Linked DNA regions of Homo sapiens: region 2 is linked to region 1. Evidence: promoter capture Hi-C in 16 types of primary human blood cells and fetal thymus (Javierre and others, 2016). All regions are on one chromosome and are shown on one strand. Each heading gives the region's core, a stretch centred on a gene start or on the middle of the fragment in contact. The rest is flanking DNA. Distances are from core to core; before and after follow the strand shown.

Region 1 (3,663 bases), core at 1,020-3,519:
AGTCACTTAGTAAATATTTTTAGGCTTTGTGGACCATAAGATCTCTGTCACAACTACTCAACTCTGCAAGTGTAGCATGAAAGCAGCCATAGATGATACATAAGTGAATAAACAGTGGGAGTGTGCCAATAAAACTTTACAAAAACAGACAGCCTACTGGATTTGGCATGCACAGTCTCCGGCTTGCTGACCCCTTGTCTAGACTGCAAAATGCTGTGGGGGTGTTCATCTCATTTGGGAAATGCTATTGTATACAACAGTGTTTGGCAAATGAAGGATGGGGATGGGGGTATATATCAGAATCACCTGTTACCCATATCTTACCCTTGCAGAATCTCTTATTCCAGACTGATTGAAGGCAGGATTTAGGTATTCCCTAGTTTCCTTTCCAATACCCATTTTAGCACCATCCTGTCCCCTAAATACATTACAAGAAGTGTTCCTTTCTCAAGCCTTTCCACATAATCTTACGAAAGCAAGGCTGAAGAGCATTTTTAATTGAAAACATATCAAGAGCCACAAGATGCAAGCAATTTTTTTCTGAGAGAGCGTTCAACTGTTAAGAACAGGAAATAAAATTTTGTCCAATAAATTAGATTATTATTTATTATACACTTAAGTGTCTATAGAGAAAAGAGGATAAAAGAGGAAAGTAAAATGGTATTCTTCTTAGAGTTTCAAATAATGATAGGTTCCCCAAATGACAGGTGTAGTCACTAAGCAAAGGGCAATATTTACTGCTGTGCATAGAGTGGGGATCATCTATTTTTTATATGTCAACATTTTCAGCCGTATCTCACACAGTTACTACGTGTCAGTTAATATTAACCTATATTTAATGAAGGAGGGCCTAACATTTCTTTTTACATAATCCTATGTCTGAAGCAATGGTTCTTAAGGGAATGACAGCTGGGAGGTTATAAAACTTAGTTGGGGGGCTTACACTGCCAAAAGTCTAACATTCCACCTAAGGAGTCATCTGTGCTTCCCCCAGAAACATGATGGCCTCAGTAAGCCATGATTACAGATGGGAATGGATTTATCACTGTGTTGTAGAACAAAACGGTAAAAATTGCTGATGGAAAGTTGCTAGATAGACAAATACATGCATGAATATAGGATCATATCACTGATAAAAGGCAGGACACAGGTGGTATACACAGAAGGCAGGAGAAACTTTGTAAGTTCATTAAATAATCACGGTACAATTAATATGTTAATTTACGGTCATATTTTGAATTATTGCCACAACATGCTAGAAAATAGGCCTAATCACCTTTGTAGCATTCTGGTGAGGGAACTGGGCCATCAGAGAAGCATGGATACTTTGGATCAGTCCAGTGTGCTCTGTTAATGTAACCATTCTTCCTTCTAAATCATTTGGATTTGTTCAGCAAAGTTCCCCATTCACAGGCCATCTAGGAGGGGAAAAGAGACATGTACGAAAATAATAATAATAATAATGATACTAGGTAGAAGATAATAAGTTTCCCCAAATATGAAGTGTCAGGGACATTCACAGGTGGGAAATATGACATCGGGTTGGAGTAGAACATCAGGCAAAGCTCCATTCATCTCCAGACCACTCAGCTCTTTTCCCAAGCAGAGTAGCAGTTATTAGTGCACTGGGATAAATTAAACACTGACTTTTGATTGTATTATTACTATAAAAATATATTAGTTATTCCTTTCAATGTATGATTTCCACAAATTCTGAAATGTAAGCTCATTACATCTTGGAGCCAAAGATTGCTCTGCTGGAGCATCTTCCCCATCAGGCAATGGAAATCAGTTTGGGGAGAAGAGGTTGTTCTGTCTTATTCTATTTAGGCATGTGTTCTCTCAGTCACTTCTAGCCACATGGGTCTGCTACCTACCATGGTAGAGATTATCTAGGGCATTGGAGGAAAATTAGAGAAAATCTCTGTTCCTCAGCAGGCTTTTGGGCAGCAAGTGAGGAAGTAAGATAACGCAGTTCAAGCGCGGGCATGCCTGCGCGCATGCGCGCGCGCTCGCGCGGACACACATACACACACACGCGCGCGCGCGCGCGCGCGCGCACACACACACACACACACACAGAGCTGCTTTGTCCGCTGTGAGGTTGGAGGTTTGGGGACTCTGTGCCCACTAAGCTACTTTCTATTTCAAGTGCCTGTATGTCTGAGGCTGGGTTTGAAGCCTCCAGCGTGTTTGGAGTTAATCCCCATTAGGTTGGACTCCGCCCCTTTCTCCCAAAGGTAAAGCAAGGTTTTCAGGCATCACTGCAAAGGGCAGCTAGTATTCCCATCCTTGTCTAACAAGCTGTAAGGAGAAGTTGTTTCTGAGATCTGAGCCTGAAGAGAGGGAACAAGTCAGTCAGCCTTCGTGGTCAGAAGGTAAATATGCAACTTGGGCCAAATGCAATTCAAACAGCTGGATAAGAAACTGCTTTGCTCTCCCCTTGCTCAGCCCCCCCTTCTCCCCTTCCTTTCTCAGGTTTCCTGTCCTTTCATCTCAAAGCTCAGAGAAGCCGTTTTCTACCCGAGGGCAGCCTGGTGCTTTTTTATTTCTTCATAGTCCGTTGTTTGCACAGAGGCTAAGATGAATCAGGGCTGGATTCCTATTTCATATTGACAAGATTTGAGGACCTAAGGGTTAAGTGCTAGTTGGTTTCCCCAGGGGAGTTGGTAACCTGAGGAGATGAAGTGCCTGTTTCTGGGAGTGGAGAGAGTGATTTTGTTATGACCTGTCTATACAAGTAAAAATGGATCCGGTTTGCTAATGTGGTAGGTTGATCTCCTGGATTTGCCTAAATCTAAGGGGTTATGCGACGGAAATGGGGTAATGAAGTTAAACTGAAATGCAAATATTGAGGCCTCTCAGGCTGGAAATAAAAGAATGCATCCATTTGGTAAATATTTATGAGTTCCTACTATGTGCCAAGGCATGACAATTTCCAGAAGAACCTGAAATACTTAAACTATAAATCCATTCTTGCAAAGAACACTTGGCCAAGTGGTTTCATTTTGTGGTGGGGAACTGAAAATAGAATGAAGCCTAGGGGTGAGGAAAAATCACCCATGGAGTGGTTGTGGGGAGAGAAAGGGGAAAGGAGAGATGTTCTAAATCTTAGGTGGTTTCAAGTCTTTTCCATTACTTATGAGAGAATAGGGTCTTTTCTGGTAGAAAGGGAGAGAATTGATACCTACTCTGGTGTTAGGTATAGTGCAGATGTTTCACTTGAATTTTATGCTTAATCATTTCCATTTTATAAATGAAACCAAAACTCAGAGGTTTTAAGTGATCTTTTTATGTGCATATAGCCTGTAAGGGGCAGACCTCAGGACTCTGTCTCTGATCTGATTCCAAAATTGTGACTTTTCCACTAAAACAGTATTCCTCAATCATTAGTTCCCATTAGAATAAATTGAGGATTTTTAACAATATGAATTCCCATAAATTCGAATTCAGTGAATCAAGGAGGGGGTGACATAGTCTGCATTTTGAACAAGCATTGAAAGTGATTCTGAACAAGCATTGAAAGTGATTCTGTTGAGACAAACATTCTTGATATACCATGCTGCCTCTCAACTTCTCTGAAGTGATTGGAAAAGCAATCAGCCCATCTTCTTCCCATATGGGCCAGATTCACTCAATAGAAGTGGTCAGCTGTGGTGACAT
Region 2 (4,209 bases), core at 1,214-3,713, 140 kb before region 1:
TCTATGAGTTTTTTTTACTGAGACACTGGGGCAGTGGAAGTGCCAAGAAAGCAAGTGGAGGCATCTTCTGCTTGGAGAAGGGTTGCGCTCTGTGTTGGGAAGGGCAGTCTACTTTCCTACTCCAAGAATGGATGGACCATTGATCAGATGATCAGAGTGTAAGCTCCATGAGGGCAGGAATTATATTTTATGTGTCTTTGTAGCCCTTATTGTGTCTAGTATGAGGCTGACAAATGTGTGGAATAGTTGATACACAATAAATACTTAATGACTTGGTTGAAAAGAAGGTTCTTCCCCTCCCCTCCACCTATCTGAGCTTGAGGCACTCAAATTGGGAGCCTCACTGAGTGTTCTTTTTTTGACCAAAAACCTACCTTATGATGACTGCCCTCCCTTCTGGGATGTGGGACAGTGAGCCTCACTAACCTCCCCTGCTACTAATAGCAGTTTAAAGTTTGCACCCTAAAGGTGACAGTGGTTTTGGCTTTTGTCATCATCCACCATTCCAACTTGGAATGGAAGTGGTAGCTTTCTAGGGCTGTGAGGTCAGAACAGAGCAAGTCTCAGACCTGAACATTTCCATCACTGGAGACTGGCCTGGCCTTCCGGACACAGCTACTGGACACTGAGGTTTCTTTTCTGCCCTAGTGGAGATGGACTCTGCTACTCATTTAAAAGCCAAGCACCATAGGAGGACAAGTCATTCTCTTGGAAGAACTGGTTTGATTAACTGCTGGCCATTGGTGGCAAAATAGAAACGACGTTTTTATTTCTCCCTCCCTCCCTCTCCTGAACATTTCAGAGTGACCAGTGGTTGGACTCTTGGCGGCGCTTACCCTGAACCTGAGTGTTAGGGGAGAGGGAATCTGCCGTTGCGGTTTCTGGAGCTGCTCATAAGCAAGAATTCCCTATCCTGATCAAGGCTTTAAGCCTAAAAGAAAGCAGAAATAGGTATGGAATATTTCTGTGTGTGTGTGTGTGTGTGTGCACACGCTCGTGCATGTGTGTATGCATGTGTGCCTGTGTGCATGCTGGGTGGGGTGGGTGTGACGTGGGAGGGGGTGGTATACTTTTCAGGGTCCAGGGCAGCTCAGTGTCTGCATTTCCCTGCCTTACAGGGAGGGTTTGTAAATCACTTTTGCTTTAACACCATACTTGTTCCTGTTTCCAGTTTGTGAGCAGGGAAAAGTAATTTGGTAGTCATCTCTCTAGTTTTGGGCACCAAAAAGGATTTATATATTATGCTTGTCAGCCTATCAGAATATCCCAATTTGACAGTTCAAGTACAGGAGTCCTGGAGGCACATTGGGAGGAATGGAAAAGGGACTGGGTTGCTTAACCCACTGGTGTGCACTTCCCAAGAGAATATGATGAGAGGGACTTTGGAGGGTCCCTTCGTGTTGTCAGACTGCCCAGCGCAACAGTTGGAAGCCAGGTAGCAGTAACCAACAAGACGTGAAGAAAGAGAGAAGATGAACTTTCTTCATATACTATATGTACATTCTGGGTCACTCTCTCTCTGCATGACCAAAAGAAAGGGGTTCGTGTTTCCAGAGAGATTGCAGGCCACTTAATATCATAGAAATAAGAGCCTGGGAGCCAGGGATCCAGAGTTGCCATCTAGAAACCTGATGCTGGTTAAACTGACCTTTATTGTGACTTTTCGTGTGACATTATGTTCATTCTCCACCAATTACTGAAGATCCTTAGAGTGAAAGTTTCATTATTGAACATTATTACTTAATTCCAATACTTAACATTGACAGATTCTGCCCAAAGAATTTTTGAATCTCTAATGAATTAGTGTGTACTATACAGTGCTGAGAGAGAGAAATCACCTACCAGCCATTTTTTGTTGAGAAAATAGACATCAAGAAAAGAGGAATCAGTTGTATACCCTGTAAACCAATAGTATGATTAGAATTTGAATATTAAATTGTGTTACTAAAATCAGTTTCAGTCAACCCATAGTACCTGTTCAGAAGAATTGATGGTGAGGGAGGGGATATGCTAATCGTATACCCTTTCCAGAAGGATGATCTTTATATTTTTCAATTTCTAAATTTTGTCAGAGGCACACTTCAAATAAAAGAGGCTTCCCCTTTAAGCTTCTACCCAATAACAATAACAGCAAATCTAAATGACTGTTTCTGGAGAGCTGAAAGGCAACTTTGTCAGTAATAAGTATTCCAAGTCCTTCTCTTATTAAGCCAAGGAGCATCCAAAATGGAGACTATGAAAATGATTTTTTAAAAAGATGTTTCAGAGCCTTATGAGATCAGAGAAAAAGATTTGCATCGAGGCAGGGATCATTACTGTCTGGTGCAAGCCAAGCTCTCTTCACCTTTTATTTATTTGAGTCTTTATTTTGCATTTTGTAGCTGCCTTCATATGCTGAGCTGCTTTACAAATCCTGTTATGGGGTAACTTTCCCCACTGTCCTGCCCCCACCTCCACAGCCATAAGATTTGGGTTTTTGCTTTAAATAGAATACAGAGAGATGAAGCCTGTGAATATGGACCTTGAAAAGTTACCCCCTTTGATTACCCTAGTTGACTGTTCCAGGTTTCTCAAGCATTCTTAGGAGTTAAGTCCAGATTGAATATTTAACTCATGCTAAAAGTGAAAGAGAAAACCTAGAGCTCTTATGCCTCCATGTTCTTCATCATATCAGTGCTAGGGCCTGGAATCCCCAACAATCTATTAATTTTAGAGTCAATTCTCTACTTTGTTTCTGCAATCGAATCCTCACCCTCCAATATCCATTTTCTTTCCCTTTAGAGGACTGATTTATCCATCAACTGGGTGTTAAGCTTCCTGTTTCCCCTTCCCAGGTCAAGGGCAGCCCAGGTGCCCAATTTCTCTCTCTCTTCACAAGGCACCACCAGCAATAGAGATGAGAAATTCTGAAGAACAGCCAAGTGGAGGGACCACGGTATTGCAGCGTTTGCTACAAGAGCAGCTTCGCTATGGCAATCCTAGTGAGAATCGCAGCCTGCTTGCCATACACCAGCAAGCCACAGGGAATGGCCCTCCTTTCCCCAGTGGCAGTGGGAACCCGGGCCCTCAGAGTGATGTGTTGAGTCCCCAAGACCACCACCAACAGCTTGTGGCTCATGCTGCTCGACAAGAACCCCAGGGGCAGGAAATCCAGTCAGAAAACCTCATCATGGAGAAGCAGCTGTCTCCTCGAATGCAAAATAATGAAGAACTCCCGACCTATGAAGAAGCCAAGGTCCAGTCCCAGTACTTTCGGGGCCAACAGCATGCCAGTGTTGGAGCTGCCTTCTATGTCACTGGAGTCACCAACCAGAAGATGAGGACTGAGGGACGCCCATCAGTTCAGCGGCTCAATCCTGGAAAGATGCACCAAGATGAGGGACTCAGAGACCTTAAGCAAGGGCATGTCCGTTCCTTGAGTGAACGACTAATGCAGATGTCACTGGCCACCAGTGGAGTTAAGGCCCATCCACCTGTTACCAGTGCTCCCCTCTCCCCACCACAACCCAATGACCTCTACAAGAATCCCACAAGTTCCAGTGAATTCTACAAGGCCCAAGGGCCACTTCCTAACCAGCATAGCCTGAAGGGCATGGAACACCGAGGCCCCCCACCAGAATATCCCTTCAAGGGCATGCCACCCCAATCTGTAGTGTGCAAGCCCCAAGAGCCAGGGCACTTCTATAGTGAGCATCGCCTGAACCAGCCAGGGAGAACAGAGGGGCAACTGATGAGGTATCAGCATCCCCCTGAGTATGGAGCAGCCAGGTAAGAGAGTTCTGTTTCTGTCATTTCCTGACCTCATCCCCAACCAGCTTCTGCTGTGTGTTGGGAATCTTAGGGAAGGAACGGGCAGGTGTTTGATATAACAAACTCTGCAATGCATGACAGGCCTCTGGCTTCGTGAATTGCCTGCCAACCCGAATTTGTATCCTCTTTAGCCATAATTAGCACTGTATTAACAATCCCTTAGCTTTGTAGGTTGAGCATGGCCTCAACTGCCTAGTGGACGAACAGGAGCAAAAGTCTTGTTTTCAGCAGCTATTTGCTGTCCTCTCTCCTAGGATGTTGAAGGGGTCTGTGTTTCTCATAAGCCCTCCTTGAGAGGTAGAAGCAAATTACCTTGCACTTTAATTAGTCTGGAACATCCTATCACTTGCACATATTCCCCTCCATGAAGCTTTCATCATTTATTTTTGCAAACAAATC

What was found. Contacts are between HindIII fragments. The CHiCAGO score rates a contact against its expected background, and 5 or more counts as called.
Region 2: a fragment that was not itself captured here is called in contact with the fragment with the promoter of LHFPL1 in region 1 in 1 of 17 cell types (non-activated CD4 T cells); the score reaches 6.3 in non-activated CD4 T cells.

Annotation. Positions count from the first base shown.
Region 1 is chrX:112,678,544-112,682,206 of GRCh38, reverse strand. It overlaps LHFPL1 (LHFPL tetraspan subfamily member 1), which reads left to right and starts at 2,269. Exons shown (of 4, transcript NM_178175.4): 1 at 2,269-2,378. The HindIII fragment of the contact is 5,630 bases long and covers 1-3,663 here.
Region 2 is chrX:112,821,814-112,826,022 of GRCh38, reverse strand. AMOT (angiomotin) reads left to right here. Exons shown (of 14, transcript NM_001113490.2): 3 at 803-951; 4 at 2,835-3,768. The coding sequence starts at 2,897. Among named protein-coding and RNA genes, the nearest start is that of AMOT, 17 kb to the left of the region's middle. The HindIII fragment of the contact is 705 bases long and covers 2,111-2,815 here.